3 separate regions of the Homo sapiens genome follow, and all the other regions are linked to region 2. The links are contacts of gene promoters, found by promoter capture Hi-C in human tissues and cell types (Jung and others, 2019). All regions are on one chromosome and are shown on one strand. Each heading gives the region's core, a stretch centred on a gene start or on the middle of the fragment in contact. The rest is flanking DNA. Distances are from core to core; before and after follow the strand shown. Region 1 overlaps MRRF (mitochondrial ribosome recycling factor). Region 2 holds the start of PDCL (phosducin like). Region 3 has its middle 6.3 kb from the start of LHX6.

Region 1 (3,841 bases), core at 768-3,267, 540 kb after region 2:
AACATGAGAAAGAGACTAGCAACAAAGCAGACAATCAATACACATTCATTTTCTTCCTTCCGCAAGAGCAATAATGGTGCCTGCAGAGTTGTGCGTGGTTTTTTATTTTTATTTTTTTTCATTTGGCTTGTTTTGTTCAAATCATGCTGTGGTTTTTATTCCCTTCTTTTCTTTCCCATCATTAACTCTAGCTGCAGGCAAGTTTATGGAAGGCAGCAACTATGTGTATCATTTATCAAGCAGGACACATGTTAAACAAATGCAACACAGTTTTCTGTCTTCAATGCATTCAAAAAGATCATGCATGTAAATCTGCATCGTGTCACTACAGCATGACACGGAAATGCTCAGGTTTGGAAAGAAAGCCAACTGTATGTGAAACAGAAATTACATAAACACAGGATTAGCTCAGCATTTTAAAGCTATGAACCTGGGTACTCTACGGTCAGCTTCGAAGCTGGAGGAAGGAAATCTTTAGTTAGAGCTATTTGTTTAATATATACAACAGACGAGATAAAGGAATTCAAAAGACAATGTAACTCACACTTCCTCATTCTGTTCCTGTAAATGAACCTCTCTACTGATATACTTGTAAGGATTTTTTCAAAACCCATGGAATTTCAACTTGAACAAATGGCAAAGATGTCTGAGTTGAAAAATGAAGATATACCCCAACTTCCTAAGAAAAAATTAAGCTGTTAATATCTCCTCCTGCTTCATAAGATGCTCTGGTGGCCAATCAGGTGCTTCTTCTGTGAATGCCATTTGCTATTTAATAAAAGAAGTGGCTGGCTCTGAAAAGCAATCTGCCTGATGAGGTCTTCAAGCTGTGTAATTAGGAGGCTATTCCCTAAATTGGCCCACAGTGCCTACGGGATTAGATGAACAAGGAGGAGAGGCCTCAGTGGTTCAGAGGGGCCCAGAAAGAGAAACAGTTGACAGTTCCCTTTTCATCAATTTCTCTGTTCCTCACTAACATCAGAAATGAGTGCCTCCCTTTTATCAACCTAATAACAGGTATTCATCCATTCAAGGAAAATTTACCAAATGGTGCCATGTGCCAGGCACTGTTTGGTGTTGGACACAATGAGCAAATTAGACATTCCTACATTCCAAGCTTACACTCTAGTAAAAGTGAGATGAAAAATAAATGTGTACACAAATGTACACTAGTAATAAGTGCAATAAAGAAAAAGAATTGTGCTGTATAGGAGAACTTAGTGTGGAAGAATAATTTAGATTGGAGAGGTCAGGAAAGGCTTCCTTAAGAAAGTGACGTTTAAGCCATGATCCAAAATATAAGTAGCAATTAGCCATGCAACAGTGTTCCATGCAATGGGAACAGGATATGCAAAGGCTCTAAGGATGCAAAGGGTTTGGTGTGTTTGAGGAACTGAAAGACCAATGTGGCTAAAGCATTGTACAAGGATGACAGTGGCACAAGACTGGCAAAACTGAAAAAACAGAGGCAAGATCAAGCAAAGCCATCTAGGCCATAATGAAGATTTTGGACTGTTTCTTGGCCACAGTGAGGATTTTGGACTGTTTCTTAAAGATTGCTAGAAGCCACCAATAAAGGCAAAGCATGGGAATGACAACTGACAAAATCTTTTATACATATATTTTTTTTTCCTTGTTTATTTAAGATACAAGGTCTTGCTCTGTCACCCAGGCTGCAGTGCAGTGGCATGATCATAGCTCACTGCAGCTTCAAACTCCCGGACTCAAGCGGTCCTTCCACTGCAGTTTCCTGAGTAGCTAGCACTACAGGTGTGTGCCATCACACCTCACTAATTTTTTTATTTTTGAAATTTTTGTAGAGCCAGGGTTTCACTATGTTGCCCTGGCTGGTCTTGAACTCCTGGCTTCAAGTGATCCTCTAACCTTAACCTCCCAAAGTGCTGGGATTACAGGCATGAGCCACCACGCCTGGCACAATATATATTTTTCAAAAACTCATTCTGGTTATAGTATGGAGAATGGAGTAGGGGAGTGGTAACAGCACACCCACAGGTGTGCCTGGCCCATTAGCTATCAGAGCCCTTTGATTTGAAACAGTGTGTTCACAGCAAGGGCTTTCCCTTTCTCCTATCTCTAGCCTAGTTTGTCAAATACAACAGGTCCAACCTTGGTCTATGACTTTGGAATACAACTACTGAAATAGACAATAAGAACAGGAGGATTCCTTCACCTTATATTAGCAGATGAGGAAATGGAGGCCCAGAGAGTGAAGCAACTTGCCCAAGGTCAAACAGCCAGTTGGTGGTAGAGATGGGACCGGATTCCAGGTACTCTAAGACTCCTAATCCAGGCCAATTCCTAGTGGACCAATAACAAAAAGCCCAATTACCTTCTTCAACTACACTTAAAATCATAAAGCTTCAAAGATGCAATGACCTAATACAACCCACCTTCCAGTTTTGGAAGCACTGTGCTCCATGCAATATTCTGCAATGGTCAGTCTAGTATAAAAGGACTTCCTGGAGGGTCTGCTCCAAATACTAATGCAGAGGTCACAAATTGGTGGCCCTCAGGCCACATTTGGCCCATTAAAGTATTGTTTTATTTGCTTCATAGTCTTTAAAAAAAAAACTCAATTAGTCATCAACATTTACAGAATAAAGATGTCACATAAAAATTTGTGTTACTAGCTTCTTCTGGAAATAAAAATCGTAGTATCAGGTAACACTGATTACCAGGCCTACATTGTGCCTGGCAATGATCAGCAGGAGCTGGGCAGAGGCATTCCACTCACACAAGGTACAGGCTCTCCAGCTCACCAGAGCCTTTTCACGCTGGCCAAGCACCAATCACTGCATCTCCAGTATTGTTTTTCTTAGATGGGACCCGTTTGGGTATTCAAACAACTTACCTAGCCTCTGTAGCATCTGAGTTTAACAGAAAAGGAATCTGGCAACAGGAAAAGAGCTTTGCCTTATCCTTAAGTTCTCTTTATTATGTCTTCTCTCTTGTTTCATCCTAAGCTGAAGGAACACTTCCTCCTGATATGACCCAGTCTCCTCCATTCCAAAAGAGACCACGGAGAGAGATTTTAGCAAGGCCATCTTACCTCTGGGAAGCTGGCCATATTCACCAAAATCAGCTGTGGCGACTTCATGGAGATCTGGCTAATCTGGTTTAAAGCAAGCTTCCCGTCAGCAGTTACCACAGCAATCTTGTCAAGGGATCCTAAAAGAAAAATTACAGAGTTTTAGAATTCCAAAGAACCTTAGTAGCCCCAAATCTAAGTCCTATCTAATTCAGATTCAGGTTGGATGCAGTGGCTCATGCCTGTTATCCCAGAGCTTTGGGAGTGAAGTGGGAGGAATGCTTGAGGGCAGTAGTTTGAGACCAACCTGCGCAAAACAGCAAGACCACATCTCTACAAAAACATTTTTTTTTAATTAGCAGGTATGGTGGCATGTGCCTGGAAGATGAGCTACTCAGCAATGAGGCTGAGGTGGGAGGATTGCTCAAACCCAAGAGGTAGAGGTTACAGTGAGCCGTACTGGCCACTGCACTCCACCCTAGGCAACAGAGTGAGATCTTGTCTCAAAATAATAATAATAATTCAGATTCAACAAACATTTAGGGATTCTTATCAATGTGACAAGAGTGTACAAGGGGCTTTCACAGGAACAGCAGTATCGTGATAGAAAAGCTTGAAATGTTGACAGAACTAAGTTGGAATTCATCACCAGCAACTAGGGTGGCCAACCATCCTGGTTTGCCTGGAGCTGAAGAATTTTCTGTGACAGGGCTTTTAGAACTAAAACTGGAAACAGCTGATCACCCTCACAAGCAACTCTGTCATTTACTTGCTATGAAACCTCAGGTGAGT
Region 2 (3,561 bases), core at 416-2,915:
GGCTCAGAATTTGAAATCATTTTAGGTTTTAAAAAAGTTGCAAAAACAGACGACAAAGTATGCCTGAGGAAAAAGAAAAAAAAGTTGCAAAATATCATAGTATGGCTTTACCCTGGAAGAAGAAAACAAAGTTGCAAAAATAGGATAGTGCTTCCCTAGATTCTTCATCTAATAGAATCTCCAAAAGTTCACATCTTACATAGTATAATTATTAAAACTATTGATACAATACTACTAATATGAATTAATAGGCCTTATTCAAATTTCGTCAGTTGTCCCATTCATGTCCTTTTTATTTTTCTTTTTTGAGACGGAGTCTCAGTCTTGACCCCCAAGCTGGAGTGCAGTGGTGCGATCTCAGCTGTCTGCAACCTCCGCCTCCCGGGTTCAAGCGATTCTCCTGCCTCAGCCTCCGAGTAGCTGGGATTACAAGTGTGCACCACCATGCCCGGCTAATTTTTGTATTTTTAGTAAAGACGGGGTTTCGCCATGTTGGCCAGGCTGGTCTCGAACTCCTGACCTCAGGTGATCTGCCCGCCTCGGCCTCCCAAAGTGCTGGGATTACAGGAGTGAACCACCGCACCCGGCCCCATGTCCTTTTTCTATACCAGGAGCCAATTCCGGATTTCACATTACATTCCTGCTCTGTCACCCAGGCTGGCCTCCAAGTCCTGGGCTGAGCGATCCTCCCGCCTCAGCCTCCTGCGTAGCTGGGACTACAGGCGCGCGCCACCACTCCTGGCTGCCGCTTCTTTAAAATGGTGAAACCCCGTCTCTACTAAAAATAGAAAAAATTAGCCGGGTCTGCTGGCGGACGCCTGTAATCCCAGCTACTCTGGAGGCTGAGGCAGGAGAATCTCTTGAACCCGGGAGGCGGAGGTTGCAGTGAGCCGAGATCGCGTCACTGCACTCCAGCCTGGGCAAGAAGAGCGAAACTCCGTCAAAAAAATATATATATATATTTTAATCTATGCCCTGTACTTGAGGGATTTGTGCTCTCGGGCAAATTACCGAACGTCTCTGAGTCACTTTTCCGTCTAATAGACGTGATGCGATGAAGAACCAATAAAAAACACACTTTGAATGGCTTCGGAAACTTCGAAGGGAAGTGAATACATTTTTCTTTTCTTTCTTTCTTTTTTTTTGAGACAGTCTCGCTCTGTCGCCCAGGCTGGGGTGCAGTGGCGCGATCTCGGCCCACTTCAACTTCTGCCTCCTGGGTTTAAGCGATTCTCCTGCCTCAGCCTCCCGAGTAGCTTGGATTACAGGCGTCGGCCACCAGGCCCGGCTAATTTCTGTATTTTTAGTAGAGACGGGTTTTCAACGTGTTGGCCAGGCTGGTCTTGAACTCATGACCTTAAGTGATCCGCCCGCCTCGGCCTCCTAAAGTGCTGGCATTACAGGCGTGAGCCACCGCGCCCGGCCTGTGAATACATTTTTCTTATTGCTTGACGCTGGGTCATACAATTCACTTTTTTGTTGTGCAGATTAAAACCAAAACAAAGCAATTAGGAGAGCGTTGTTGTCGAGGTGTTTTGTTCCAAGGTAGGACCCGTAGCTTCTCCCCTGCCCCTCAGCTGGGAGTAGCGGCTTCTGATTGGACAATGCGCGTCCGCCACGACGCAGGAAGGCCGCCTCATTGGTCCGCGCTGTCGGGCTTCGGCGGCTTTTCTCTTTAGCGCTCAGGGCGCTGACCCACTGCTCTTCCTCTTAAGAAAGTGCTCCATTCCTTCCGGCGCCCGGAGCTGCTGGCCCAAAGGGATCCGGAGCGAGCTAGGGCAGGTAACTGCATTGGGGTCCACCGGGAAGCGGCAGCAGCTGCGGACTACGGGAGGGAGTGGGGTTGGCGAGCTTGGGTAAAACTGCCCCTTCTTCGCTCTGTCTCGACCCCCAAGTTCTCCGCGTCTTCCTCGTCCCCTTTCCTCCTCTGGCCCCACCTCCCCCGGGCCCTTCCAGCCTTCCCCCAAAAGCTCCACACACCCCTCTGCTTCCCGTCCGGGGGCCCCGCCTCCTCTGCTCGCGTCTCCAGGGGGCCCGCCCTCGTCTCCTCCCCGCAGCGGTCCCTCCTTTAGGAGCGCAACTCCTTCCCTCCCCTCCGCCGCTGCTGTGTCCCCCGCTTGGCCCATTCCTGGGCCTTAAGTTTGGTTTTGTTCCTTCTTGGCACCTCCACCTGTCTCTCCATGATCCCTGTCTCCTTTGCATCTGACTGCTGGAGTCCTCCGATTCTCCCGTTGACCCAGGCTGCGAGTTTAGCAAATTGTGCAGCGGCATTGTGCTGGGCTTTGGGGATAGAGGTAGTGACTAGAGGTCCCTACGTTCAAGAACTCCTTGCCCGGTGGGAGAGAGTCACTTTGTAAATGGAGTATGATAGGCCCGGTGATAAGTCTTTAAGGCAGCCGCATTCCTGCTGAATTCTCAAGCAGGCCTCTGGGGGCTAAGCTGCATCTTTTCATCAGAATGCCCTTGGCTACTTCTGATGCAGAAGCCTGGTCCTTTATATTTTTAGTTTTTATTTTTTTTTGAAACAGAGTCTCGCTCTGTCTCCCAGGCTGGAGTGCAGTGGCGTGATCTTGGCTCACTGCAACCTCCGCCTCCCGGATTCAAGAGATTCTCGTGCCTCAGCCTCCTGAGTAGCTGGGAAAACAGACACCCGCCACCACACCTGGCTAATTTTTGTTTGTTTGTTTGTTTGCTTTTACTAGTAGAGACAAGAGTTTCGCCATGTTAGCCAGGCTGGTCTCGAATACCTGGTCTCAAGTGATCCTCCCTCCTCGGCCTCCCTAAGTGCTGGGATTACCTGCGCGAGCCCGGCCATCATAGTCCTTTAAACCCTTGGGAGTTATTAAAATCTTTGTATGGGCCCTTCTTTTAAACTGTCAGAATAGGTAGCGTTTCAGAGACCATCCATCCAAGCCCTCAGGGTGTTGTCTGGGAAGTTGAAGGCTGGTGACAGAGAGTGATTGCCTAGACAAATAGTGACTCAGCATTGTACTCTTGATGCCTCTTTTTGGGGTTTTTCCTGAGGATACTTAAACAATTTTTCAATTAGGCAGCAGTCTTAGCTGGTGGGAAAACTAAAAGCACAGATAAAACCACTAGTCAGTAGATTCCTCCAAGCCAGTGCAGGTGGCTTGTACACTTAACTCAGACTAGAGTAATTTATACCTCAGGCTCTTGGAGTCAGGAATCCCTGGGGTCTGGTCCCAGCTCCGTCATTCGCTGTTAAGCTTGGTGAAGACTCTTCCTTTATCTGAGCTTCAGTTTTACCTTCTGTTAAAGAGTGTGATAAGCCCTAACACACAGGGTAACGGTAGGGATTTGTTAAGATTTTGGTTATGAAAATAATCACTTTAGTGTCCTGGAAATTGTAGGATCTCAGCACAGGCGAGCCCCCTATGCTTCAGATTCATGTCTGTCTGGCTCAAATCAGCAAAGAACCTGATATGCTTTCTTTTTCCAGACACCATGACCACCCTTGATGATAAGTTGCTGGGGGAGAAACTGCAGTACTACTATAGCAGCAGTGAGGATGAGGACAGTGACCACGAGGACAAGGACCGA
Region 3 (3,847 bases), core at 175-2,674, 590 kb after region 2:
CAGGTCTGTGTCTTCTTTCCTCTGCATTCAATCTTAAACTTGGCTAAGATTACTGATTATGCTGAATGACATTTAATTTTTACATGCCCTGTGACTTTTCTAAACTAGAAGCATAATTTTAAATTTTCACCTTAAAAAACAAGTTATGTGTTCCTCTTCTGAAAACAGGCCTATCCCATTTGAGAAGCTTTCTGGTGGGCGACCTCATCAGAAGGAAGGTTACTCATTCCTGAAACAGATGGCATTTGCCATGTGTGATGCGTGGAGGGTGTAAAGATGATGAGGCAGGAGCCCTGTGCACTGTGATGTACCGTGATAAAGGGACGACTCAGCAGCTTCAAGACACCAGAGGATGGGAACCAGGCTGGGAATGGGACATGGTGACATAGGTGATTTCCCCCCGAGCTGAGCGGCCAAACGATGTTTAATAAGCTGCGTAAACGGTTTAAGGGGGACGTTGAACAAAGAACAAAGCCCCAAAGTGAGAGATATTAAGATTTAATCTAAGTAAGGAGTTAAGATACTTCCAAATACCTAGAACCATAGGATAAGCCAGGTTTATGAGGCCTTCTACAAATCAGTCCCACTAGGCATTCTCCTAACCAGACTAAACTATTTGTGCACCCTAAACATGATGGACTCTCCTGGATTCCCCTGTCCTTGTACAAGATGTGCCTTCTACCTGGGAAGTCCCTTCTGCCCACCCCCACCACTTGTCTAACAGATATTTTCCCACCCATGCTCATTCCTATAAGGCAGTTAATTGCCTTTCTGCGTCTTAACGACCTGGGTCTGTTTTAGCACTTATCACTACATATAATGTGCTTTATAATTTAAAAAACGATTCTCACCAAAAGTAAGATGAGTTTCAGGGGCAAATTACCTCCCAGAAAGCAAACAAGCCAACTCTCTTCTCATAGATGGGGTAAATTCCAGCTGCTGTAAAATCTCCACTTCCAAGGCTTCCGCTGCTATCCCTACCCTGATATCTCTGAAATTCCTTCTCTTAGATCCAGGCTCTCTTCTGAGCTGCAGAGCCATATGTCCCGTTCACTCCTGGGCACTTCCACTTGAATATTCCCTTGGTACATTGACTCAAAACCGAGCTCATGGATCCCTCTTGCCCTTCCTCAATTGCTCCCATGTTCTGTGTCACTGGGAAAAATAAAATAAACTATTAGAAACCTGAGAGTTATCTTGAACATTTTCCACTCCCCCACTCCCTATATCCAGTCTCCTAAATGTTATATAGCTGATGATATCATATATGATACATTTGTATGTATTTATACCATATATACTACATATATATGATTCTATATATAACCTTAATATGTAAAGTTGGTTAGACGTGGTGGCTCACGCCTGTAATCCCAGCACTTTGGCCAAGGCAGGCAGATCACTTCACGCCAGGAGTTTGAGACCAGCCTGGCAAAATAGTGAAACCACGTCTCTACTAAAAATACAAAAAATTGGCTGGGCACGGTGGCTCATGCCTGTAATCTCAGCACTTTGGGAGGCCAAGGCAGGCGAATCACCTGAGGTCAGGAGTTGGAGACCAGCCTGACCAACATGGAGAAACCCCATCTCTACTAAAAATACAAAATTAGCTGGGCGTGGTGGCACATGCCTGCAATCCCAGCTACTTGGGAGGCTGAGGCAGGAGAATCGCTTGAACCCAGGAGGTGGAAGTTGCGGTGAGCCGAGATTACGCCATTGCACTCCAGCCTGGGCGAGAAGAGCAAAACTCTGTCTCAAATAAACAAAAGCAAAAGCAAAAAATTAGCTGGACATGGAGGCACGTGCCAGTAATCCAGCTACTCAGGAGGCTGAGGCATAAGAATCACTTGAACCCAGGAGGTAGAGGTTGCAGTGAGCCGAGATGGTGCTACTGCACTCCAGCCTGGGCGACAGAACGAGACTCTGCCTCAAGGAAAAAAAAAAAAAAGATGATTAGAAAACTGGATGTGTTGTAGATATGTATATGATGATATACAACATAATAAAGTAAAATAATAAACTTTTAATTATTTTATTTCTGTTCATCCTCCTTGTTCCTGCAGCTGCCTCATTCCTTCTCCCTTAGATTACTAGTTAATAAACGTTCAGTATTGCTGCAATCAATTAAGTACTTACCCCTTCAAATCTATCTTCAAACCAACTACTTAAGTCATCTTTCCAAATCTCCAACTTCACCATGTCATCTCCATGCTGACAAGCCCCTCATAGTTCCTATTTTGAAGTTGAAATTCCTTGGCATTCTATAGAAGACTATTTGTGAGGCTATGTGTAAGCTGTATCTACCCTCTGCTGGAAAAAGATTAATACGGGAGATTTATTTTCAATCATGTGGTCAGGGTAGAATTCTCTGAGGAGGGAACATCTAGCACCTTGAGGATCCCCACTTAGCTAGTGCCTTCTGTGTGACCATTACCTCATCTTCTTAGTGGTAACAGTGATAACAATGTCTCTTGGTGGCCAAGAACTTAACTCGTAGATGCATCATGGTCTCCTGGTATCATCACAGCACTTGTCAATGGGTTATCTATTAATCCCCATTTTACGGTTGAGGGAACTAAGGCTCATAGAGTTTGTGACTTGCCTTCGGCCCCCCAACCAGTGTGTAACAGGGTCAGGTTATCAATATAGGCCACCTGGCTCCAACCCCGGAATCCTTAACCACTGTGCTGTGCAACTCCTGCAGGATGCTGCTTCCTGTGTCACTGTAGGCTTGTAGACTCCAGCTTCCAAGATGAATCTAACCTCGTCAACACTCAGCTCCCCACAATCTGGCTCCTGTCTACTTCCCTAGCCTCATCTCCCTTTGTTGCCCCAGCAAACACTAACTGGGCCGCCACTCTTTATCCTGGTCCAACTCCTTTCTGCTCTTGCCTGTCTGTACTTACTCATCCTTCAGGACTTATCTGAAACGTCACCTCCTCTAGGAAGCCTTCCTGATCCACCACCCATAAGCCAGGTTAAGTGACCCTCCTCCTTGCTTCTATAGCACCCTTTGTAGCACCTGTCACACTGCACTGAGTTGCTGGCTTTCTTCTCTCTTAAGAGACTGTGGGCTCCTCAAGGGCAGGGACAAGGACAGCTTCCTCTATTTCCTGGGCCTAGTGTGGAACCTGGTATGGAGTAAATGCTTCACAAATGTCTGCTGACCTGAACTTACTTAGCGAATGTCAGAGCTTCCTGGAAGGGGACTTCCAGTAACTATAATTGTTCACATTTGCAATATGCTTTGAGGTATGCAATATTGCTTTGCCATATACTTTGAAGCTTTGATTTGTCCCCTGCCTTCATAAAGAATTTGATGTGGTACCTAGTAGAATAACAAACAGAAAATTCAGAGAGCCCGTGCCACAATGACGGCTAATGTTTATTGATTGACTACTGTGTGCCAGGCATATTTCTGAGTCCTGTCACATGGATCATTTGCGTAATTTTCACAACCATAGGAGTTGAACTCGGTTATCCTCACTTAACAGATGAGGAAACTGAGGCTGATGAGTGACTGAAGAACTTTTCCAGGATTACCCAAGTAATAAAGGGAAGTGACAAGGTTGACATTAAGGCCATCTGGCCCCGGAGTTTTGTGCTTCTCAAATCCCTTTCACACTGATTATCTTATTGACTCCTCTGAGATTGATATTGTTCCCAGATATTGATATTAAGAAAAATGTGTTTCAGATAAGTGACTTTTCCAAGTTCAGCGTGCCAGGAAGTGGCTGGGCTGGGTTGGTGGTCTATCTTACGCCCAGGCTCGCTCCGTCACTTCCACATCGCTGATTCACACGCGCATTTTGCAAACAAGGACACTGAGGCCAGGAGAGGTAAATTG

Evidence for each region. Contacts are between HindIII fragments. The study calls those that stand out against the background at their distance.
Region 1: a contact is called between a fragment that was not itself captured here and the fragment with the promoter of PDCL in region 2, in 1 of the 25 tissues and cell types used here (lymphoblastoid cells).
Region 3: a contact is called between a fragment that was not itself captured here and the fragment with the promoter of PDCL in region 2, in 1 of the 25 tissues and cell types used here (hippocampus).

Annotation. Positions count from the first base shown.
Region 1 is chr9:122,284,517-122,288,357 of GRCh38, reverse strand. It overlaps MRRF (mitochondrial ribosome recycling factor), which reads right to left. Exons shown (of 7, transcript NM_138777.5): 4 at 3,071-3,189. Among named protein-coding and RNA genes, the nearest start is that of MRRF, 22 kb to the right of the region's middle. The HindIII fragment of the contact is 3,862 bases long and covers 87-3,841 here.
Region 2 is chr9:122,826,692-122,830,252 of GRCh38, reverse strand. PDCL (phosducin like) reads left to right here and starts at 1,665. Exons shown (of 4, transcript NM_005388.5): 1 at 1,665-1,782; 2 at 3,461-3,561. The coding sequence starts at 3,466. RefSeq lists an enhancer at 1,469-1,763. The HindIII fragment of the contact is 7,303 bases long and covers 1-3,561 here.
Region 3 is chr9:122,233,307-122,237,153 of GRCh38, reverse strand. No RefSeq gene overlaps it. Among named protein-coding and RNA genes, the nearest start is that of LHX6, 6.3 kb to the right of the region's middle. The HindIII fragment of the contact is 6,020 bases long and covers 1-3,847 here.